3 separate regions of the Homo sapiens genome follow, and all the other regions are linked to region 2. Evidence: promoter capture Hi-C in 16 types of primary human blood cells and fetal thymus (Javierre and others, 2016). All regions are on one chromosome and are shown on one strand. The core of a region is centred on a gene start or on the middle of the fragment in contact, and the rest is flanking DNA. Distances in the headings are between cores, read along the strand shown.

Evidence for each region. The method cuts DNA at HindIII sites, captures the fragments that hold promoters and counts their contacts. A CHiCAGO score of 5 or more calls a contact.
Region 1: a fragment that was not itself captured here is called in contact with the fragment with the promoter of RALGPS2 in region 2 in 2 of 17 cell types (non-activated CD4 T cells and naive CD4 T cells); the score reaches 6.2 in non-activated CD4 T cells.
Region 3: a contact is called between a fragment that was not itself captured here and the fragment with the promoter of RALGPS2 in region 2, in 1 of 17 cell types (total CD8 T cells). The highest score is 5.0, in total CD8 T cells.

Annotation. Positions count from the first base shown.
Region 1 is chr1:179,284,927-179,287,764 of GRCh38, forward strand. No RefSeq gene overlaps it. Among named protein-coding and RNA genes, the nearest start is that of SOAT1, 7.5 kb to the right of the region's middle. The HindIII fragment of the contact is 164 bases long and covers 1,189-1,352 here.
Region 2 is chr1:178,723,909-178,726,673 of GRCh38, forward strand. RALGPS2 (Ral GEF with PH domain and SH3 binding motif 2) reads left to right here and starts at 1,336. Exons shown (of 20, transcript NM_152663.5): 1 at 1,336-1,511. It overlaps RALGPS2-AS1 (RALGPS2 antisense RNA 1), which reads right to left and starts at 2,376. Exons shown (of 1, transcript NR_187252.1): 1 at 1-2,376. RefSeq lists silencers at 1,110-1,264, 1,166-1,335, 1,596-1,715, 1,916-2,145 and an enhancer at 1,686-2,275. The HindIII fragment of the contact is 4,509 bases long and covers 1-2,765 here.
Region 3 is chr1:179,311,708-179,314,407 of GRCh38, forward strand. The region is part of intron 2 of SOAT1 (sterol O-acyltransferase 1); the gene reads left to right. Among named protein-coding and RNA genes, the nearest start is that of SOAT1, 19 kb to the left of the region's middle. The HindIII fragment of the contact is 322 bases long and covers 1,243-1,564 here.

The DNA.
Region 1 (2,838 bases), core at 21-2,520, 560 kb after region 2:
ACCAAGAGTGAACTGTAATGTAAACTATGAACATTGGGTGATAATGCTGTGTCCACACAGGTTCACCAATTGGAACAAATGTACCAGTCAGGTGGGGGATTTTGACAATGGGGGAGGCTATATGTACACTTATGGGGGTAGGTGGTACGTATACATTCTGCTTAACTTTCCCATGAATCTAAAGCTGCTCTAAGCCGTGGGGGGTGACTCAATCCTGTAATCCCAACACTTTGGGAGGCTGAGGTGGGGAGATCACTTGAGTTCAGGAGTTCAAGACCAGCTTGGCCAAGATGGTGAAACCCTGTCTCTGCTAAAAATACAAAAAATTAGCCGTGTGTGGTGGCACACACCTGTAATCCCAGCTACTTGGGAGACTGAGGCAGGAGAATCACTTGAACCCGGGAGGGAGTGGTTGCAGTGACCCAAGATCGTGCCACTGCACTCCAGTCTGGGCAACAGAGCCAGACTCCTTCACACACACACACACACACACACACACACACACACACACACACAAACAAACCTGGGTCAGGCGCGGTGGCTCATGCCTGTAATCCCAGCGCTTTGGGAGGCTAGGTTGGGAGGTTCACTTGAGATTGAGAGGTCAGGAGATCGAAACCATCCTGGCTAACACAGTGAGACCCCGTCTCTACTAAAAATACAAAAAAAATTAGCCGGGCGTGGTGGCAGGCGCCTGTAGTCCCAGCTACTCAGGAGGCTGAGGCAGGAGAATGGTGTGAACCCAGGAGGCGGAGCTTGCAGTGAGCCAAGATCGCGCCACTGCACTCCAGCCTGGGCGACAGAGCAACACTCTGTCTCAAAAAACAAAATAAAAACAAACATACTTTAAAAAATAAAGTATGTAGGCCTGGCATGCGTGGTGGCTCATGCCTGTAACCCCAGCACTTTGGGAGTCCAAGGCGGGCAGATTACCTGAGGTCAGGAGTTTGAGACCAGCCTGGCCAACATAGTGAAACCCTGTCTCTACTAAAAATACAAAAATTGGCCGGGTGAGGTGGCAGATGCCTGTAATCCCAGCTATTCAGGAGGCTGAGGCAGGAGAATTGCTTGAACCCGGGAGGCAGAGGTGTTGCAGTAAGCCAAGATCATGCCACTGCATTCCAGCCTGGGCGACAGAGTGTGAATCTGTCTAAAAACAGTGTATTAAGAAAAATTCACAAATGCAAAAGCTTCAGTGAAAAAATTCAATATTTGAATGTGTTTATATTCATAAAGAATTCTATGAAAGAGTGGACACCAACATGTTAAAGTGTTAAAGGTGATTATTTCAATTTTGAGTGATTTTTATTTTCTTCCTTAATAATCGTATATGTTTTTTGAATTTTTCAGCAAGCTTGTGGTTTCGTTTATTTGTTTGTTTTTTGAGACAGAGTCTTGCTCTGTTGCCCAGGCTTAAGTGCAGTGGCATAATGTTGACTCATTGAAACCTCTGCCTCCCGGGTTCAAGTGATTCTCATGCCTCAGCCTCCCAAGTAGCTGGGATTACAGGCATGCACCACCACGCCCGGCTAATTTTTGTATTTTTAGTAGAGATGGGATTTTGCCATGTTGGCCAGGCTGGTATCAAACTCCTGGCCTCAAGTGAACCACCCAACCTAGCCTCCCAAAGCACTGAGATTACAGGCGTGAGCCACCGTGTCTGGCCAAGCTTGTGTTATTTATCTAATAAGGAATAAATCTGTCTTCCTCATGGAAATAAAAACAATACATATTAGGCTAATAAAGAAAATTAGCCCCTTCCTTTGGAGAAAGGAATAAATTCTGGTAGTAATGTCAGAAAAGATGAACTGCGTCATTGGCAAGCACAGCTGTGTGGCAGTTATTCCATTCCTACATGGGACAGTCAGATGGTAGTATCCATTCACCAGTGGTGCTTGAGAAACTCTTGATGCTGTTTCCTTATATGTGTACATCTTTGAACTATCATTACACTTCTGGTGGTGCCTAGAATGTACTTTGCTATTTAGAGCTAGAGAAAATCCATGTAGGCAGGATGGATTCTCTTAACCAGCATAGATTACTCTCTCCCTTGTATATAAAGACTTCTGCTTGCAGAAAAACAAGTGATGATATAGCTTGAAAGATGATGACTGGATCAGCTGGGAGCCATAGCTCACACCTGTAATACCAGAACTTTTTGAGGCCAAGGCAGGTTGATCACCTGAGGTCAGGAGTTCGAGACCAGCCTGGCCAACATGGTGAAACCCTGTCTCCACTAAAAGTCTAAAAAATTAGCCAGGCATGGTGGCACATGCCTGTAATCCCAGCTACTCAGGAGGTTGAGGCAGGAGAATCACTTGAACCTGGGAGGCGGAGGTTGCAGTGAGCCAAGATCACGCCATTGCACTCCAGCCTCAGCAAAAAGAGCAAAACTCTGTCTAGAAAGAAAGAAAGAAAGAAAGAAAGAAAGAAAGAAAGAAAGAAAGAAAGAAAGATGGATGGATGAATGGATCACTGAGAGGAGGAATGTGTCTGACCCCTGTTGTCTTTGAGGTTGACCCACACTCTAGGACCTCATGCTTTCAGTTGCTTTCTTAATTCATTCAATCCCTTTATTGGGTAACCTATAGGTATTGCGTTAGGTGCTTTGGGAGATAAACAAGACAGGATTCCAGCCCTTCAAGAGTTTTCAGAAACATTTCAATGAAGGTCTATGTCCTGGTTTACACCCTTGCCTCATTGTCTTACTCAATCACAAAACCTTAACTCCAGATTAATCTGCTTTCCCTATGCTTGAGCGAATGCCAGTGGCGAAATTATACATACTTGGGATGGGGTAAAGATTTATTGCCTGTTTGGTATCACTAAGGGAGTTGT
Region 2 (2,765 bases), core at 86-2,585:
TACCAATCATCTTCCTTTTTCTTTTCTTTTTTGGACTCTTGTCATTTGAAATATTGGGTGGGGGGGAACGCTTTTTTTCTTCTTTTGATTGCTCTACTTCTTCTAGTGATTTCGTCATGATTCAAGACTTTCTTTGAAAGTAAAATGGAATAAAAATGAAACACTACGAACTTTGTTGCCTATCCTCGCTGTTTTTCTTTTTGACTTAACTTTGCGTTGGGGTGCTTTAAAGTAACCCTATTTGAGAGAAGGAGGTTGAAGGGCATTCTAGCGTCCCCAACTAGAGTAAAAGGGCTATGACAGAAGGCAATCAAAGGAGGAAATAATTAGCAATCTTCAACGTTCAAGATTAATCAGTTCTGTTTAGCGGTTATTAAAGGGAAGAAAGAAACCAAATGGGAATAGTGAATTATTGGTCCTTTCATGTTTTACACTTAATGCTGGTACATAGTATTCTTTCCACATTCTACTGCACATTGCCTAGAGAAAGAACTGCAGATCATCAAATAATTATCCATTTCCAAATGGTCTAATGACAGCAGATACAAAGGCGGCTCACTTAAAACCTTCCGTTAACAGTCACACTGCATCAAATGGTGCTAGCTTTAAGTAGGCCACCCATTTAGTAGACTCTGAAACAACACCTTTCCGCCCAATTTCTGTCATTTGCTCCTTAAGTCAAGGGTAGTACCCTGCGTAACATCTTACAAAGGCCTACTTCTAACACTTCCCGAATCTTAATGTGTGAGGATGTTGATCACCATAATTTATGACCTTATCTAAGACAGTGGGGTGACTCTCCACATTGGGAGCCCCCTCATTTGTCCTCAGTGACTTCTAAAAACACCGCTGGCGTGGGCTGGATATTTGATCTTGGGGCCAAGTGCTTCCAGACTTTGTTCTCTGGCCTTAAAGGTGAAGAGCCCGGCGCTGAAGGCCACAGACATCACGGCGGATTTCACAGAGGGCCGCGTTCCGGGAGCGGGTGGCCAGGCGGTGGCGGACGCCCCACCTGTCCATCCTCCTACCCCTTCCCCCCCCCGTTGTTTGGCCGGTGGGAGCCCCTCCTTTCAGCAGGCGCCGGGCGGTGGGGTTGCGGATGGCTGCGCGCGCTGCGGGCACCGATCACCGGCGGCAGTTGGGCTCCGCGGGGCCGAAAAGCTGCGGGCGGGAAGCGCGAGGTTAAGACCCTGACGGCTGCAGCTCTCAGAGCCCCCGCGAGCGCGCTCCGTTGGTGCGCGCGCGCGCGCGGCTCCGCCCCGCCCGCTTGGCGCGCGCCCCCGCCAGGTCCGCTCTCGTCCCCCACCCCTGGCGCGGACGGGGTGGTTCCAGCTCACTCTCCTCCCCCGAGCGGCAGCGGCGGCGGCGGCGGCGGCTGCTGCGGGCGCTGAATGAGAGACGGTGACTGTTCGGGTCGACGAGTGCTACTCTAGGCGGCGGCGGCCGTGGCGGTGAAGCGTGAGGCCGGCATCGTCTTTCCGTCCTCTGAGGCGACGGCCGCGGCTGCACAGGTCGGTGGGCTCAGGCCGCGGGGCGGTGCGGGGGAGGGAGGGAGGGAGGGTGGGTACGCGGCGCCCCCCGGGCGGCGCGGGGAATGGCGGCGGCGGCGCTGCGGAGTGTGGCTCTCCCGGCCGCGGGCCCCGGGGCTGCTCGCCCTGCGCGCAGGGAGGGGGCTGCGGAGCTGGGGCTGAGGCTGAGGGAGAAGGGCGCTGGGCGGCGCGCCTCCCTCGGCCGCGGGTTCTCAGAGTCGGAGCGGCCGTGGGGTCCCCGCTCGGGGGCGCCGTCCTGAAGCCGGGGGCGCTGCGACCCCTTGAACCCGCCTCGCTCTCCCTCTTGGGTGGCGGAAGCCCCCAGCCTCCGCCCGCTCTGTTCTGGCGCCCAGCGGCGCCTCAGTCTTCCTTCAGGTGAGCCCGATCCCGGACCTCGGAGCCAGGACCAGCAGAAGCCGGGCCACACCCCCTCCCCTGGCCCTGGCGGCTGCGCCCAGAAGCCTGGCCGCAGAGTTGGCCGCCCGCGAACCCGCGGAGTCGCGGTCAGGGTGACCTGTTGCAGAGCGGCCCGCAGCCCGAGCGGCCCCCGCCAGCCCCGGCCCCGGAGGGGCTGCGTCCTGTGCTGGCCTCGGGCCGGGCGCGCGGGCCGGGTGTGGGGCAGGGGCCGCAGCCCCAGGTCGGCTTGCTCTACGGCCTGGAACCGGGCTCTAGAAAAAAAAGGAGATTCCGAACGTATCTCATCAAACACTTGCAAAGCCGGGAGATCTGTCTGCAAATATCCGGAATTCCATTGCAGTATCGGATTAGGTAGGCTCATAAACACCGTGCTTTTGAGGTGATTTGGAAGAAACGCGAGCCACGAGCGAGGAACTAGTTTCTGGAAAATAGCCGTAAACCTGTGCGGAGCGAATTATTAACCCCCCGCCCCAGCTCCCCCCTCGAAGCTCTTTTCCTGTAGCTGTGTGTTGTGTAGACGCAAGCCAGTTTCAGTGTACGTGGGCGTGTTTGGGAAGAAGCTGCGAGCTGATAGGAGGTACCTAGTACAAATGTTAATTTGTTTGAGTTGGGAGGGGTAAGGGAGGAGGAAGAAAGGGCACTGATGTTAGCTGTGGAGGAGGGGCAATTGAAATACTAAATTTCTGTTAAAAAAAAAAAACCCCAAAAGAAATATCTAATGCCTACTGTGTATTTAAGACCATAAAGTGGAATCACACAAGCAGCAGTTAATTGAGCTTTATCGTTTATGCTCCCTGGATTTTTTTTCCCCAACACTTT
Region 3 (2,700 bases), core at 154-2,653, 590 kb after region 2:
TTCAATTACTTATTTTTAAAAAACAAATTAAATATATAATAACTTGATAAGTGTTAGTAGAACTACAGATTTTATTTTCAGTATCACTGATGACATCCATATCATAATTTCTGAAACATGATTTTTAAAGAACAAATTGTCTCTGAATTTAAATGTGGACAATATAATTGACTCAGTGGGTTGAACTTTTTGAATAGGGAATGATTAAGACAATAATAGTTTGAAGGGTTAGTCTTGAAAAAGAGATGGGCTACTCTTTCCTCTGACACAGAAATGTTGGAGAAGAGGTTGAAAGACAGCAAAAATTAAGAAACATAGAAGACATTTAAGGATTTGGTACCAAAACTGAACAACTAAAAGTTACTTGGTGGGGCTGGGACTTGAAAGTGGAAAAGGTTTCCAACTACTTTTGTGAGGAATGTCACAGAAATTCATCAAGAGGCAGAGACAAAGATTGCATATTTTCATTGCTGGCCTGCCTAAGGCTTGACTGCAGCAGTTTAGAATGGGCCTATTTTCCTAACTTTTTCTGTAGCGCATGGCAATTTGGAATCAGAAGGCAGATAGCGGGTAATTTCTGGAGTCGGCGTGTGGCATGGTGGGTCCAGGAAATTGGTGGTGGTGATAAGGGACAGATAGAAATAATGACAGAGGGTTAGTAAGTCCGTGCTGGTTAAGAAAACTGGAAAACCAAAATGATGACTTCTATCAGAAGAGAAACTGTCTCTTTCCCTGTCTTTCTCTTTAGCGATGAAACCTTCGCTAGAAATTCCCCTACAGACTTCTCGTGTCTCATTGGCCAGAGTTAGATTACAAGTTATGCTGGCTATCTACCTTTTGCCTCTCCAGTCTTTTCTACGCTACTTTGTTTCCTGGGAGACTGACGTTAAGAACTGCAACAATAGTCTCCAGTGCCCTGTGTGTTTCTGGTAGGCTTGGCCAGTGGGAGAACTTCAGGAGATCTAAGAGCAGAGAGTAAGGTGGGTGTATTTATAACTAAGGTTCTCTCCCTGGTAGGTAACCATTGCTCCTTTCTAATATTTCTCTCTAAAGAGTTCTCTCTGGGTTCCACTAACCCTTTACCCGCTTTGCCCTTTCTGGCCTCAGGATGGTAACAGCTTTCCTGATGTTTATTACTAGCCCTAGAATTCCATATCATCCTTATTACCATCCTTTGTTGCTTTTCTTAAACTCTGACCACACACTAGAAAAAGGACCTCTTTAAATTTTTCCCAGTCAATAAGCTTGAGTGGGTCATCTCTTTGCTGTCTGATACTCAGGTCCATTTTTAAATCAGTTTCTCGCAAAGGCAGTGACATGCATGTCCTTATTTGGGAAGCAACCGGCAGTGTTCACCATGGCTGTGTTACATTATAAAAAATAATGTGTGTGTACTTGTCTGTTTTATTTGCCAACCAGATTTACAGTAAACTTGGCCATCTAGAACAAAGTTGGCAAACGTGGCCGTGTTCATTCTTTTGTGTTTGTAGTGCTTTCTCCTGTTATCACAGTAGAGTTGAGTAGTTGTTACATAGTTGCAGACTATACTGCCCATTACGGAAAAAGCTTTCTGACTCTTGATCTAGAATTACGTTGTTCAATATGGTTGCCACTAGAAGTACACTGTTTAATGTAGTCTGGTTGAGCACTTGAAATGTGGCTAGTCTGGATTGAGAAACACTATAGTTATGATATGTCAGATTTCAGAGACTTACTGGCACCCATTTCTTTTTACTTTTTAATGTGGCTCCTAAAAATTTTAAAATTACACATGGTGATTCACATTTTATGTGTATGTCTGTGTATATATGTGTATATATATATGTATATGTGTGTATATATGTGTATATATATATGTATATGTGTGTATATATATGTATATATATATTTTTTTTAGACAGAGTTTTGCTTTTGTTGCCCAGGCTGGAGTGCAATGGTGCTATCTCTGCTCACCGCAACCTCCGCCTCCCAGGTCCAAGCGATTCTCTTGCCTCACCCTCCCAGGTAGCTGGGATTATAGGCATGCGCCACCACGCCTGGCTAATTTTGTATTTTTAGTAGAGACGGGGTTTCCCCATGTTGGTCAGGCTGGTCTCGAACTCCTGACCTCCGGTGATCTGCCTGCCTCGGCCTCCCAAAGTACTGGGATTACAGGTGTGAGCCACCGTGCCTGGCCACACATTGTATGTTTATAGGACGACACTGATCAGGAATGTAACTGGTGGCCTAGAAAGTAAGTAGATAAGCTTCCCTTAGGCCAAAGCCTATTAAATACAATATTGTCAAGAAAAGAGAGCATGGCATTAAGAGGCATCTGACTGAGCTTCAGGCCTCAGAAAAATCCAACAAGTCTTCATGCTTCATTCCTTTGCCTGGAATAATGTTTCTAGCATTTGTTCACCATAATTTTTCTTTATTATTTGAGACTCAGTTCAAATATTGACTCCTGCAAAAGCCTCCTACACCCCTCATTCTCCCACAGCGCTCCTCTGTATTGTCCTTTTCCCTATTTGTAGTTTTCTCCTGAGATCCTGAAGGGAGGGTTTGCCCTGCATGTATTGGGTCCTCAGTGGGCTTTTACTTAATGCATGAGTATATAAATTGAGTAAATTAGTTACCAATTTAACAAGCCTGGTTATTTGTCTCTTTTCTTCTGTGTAGCTTTGGCGGTAGATTGACTATAGTAATAGAAGTGTACGA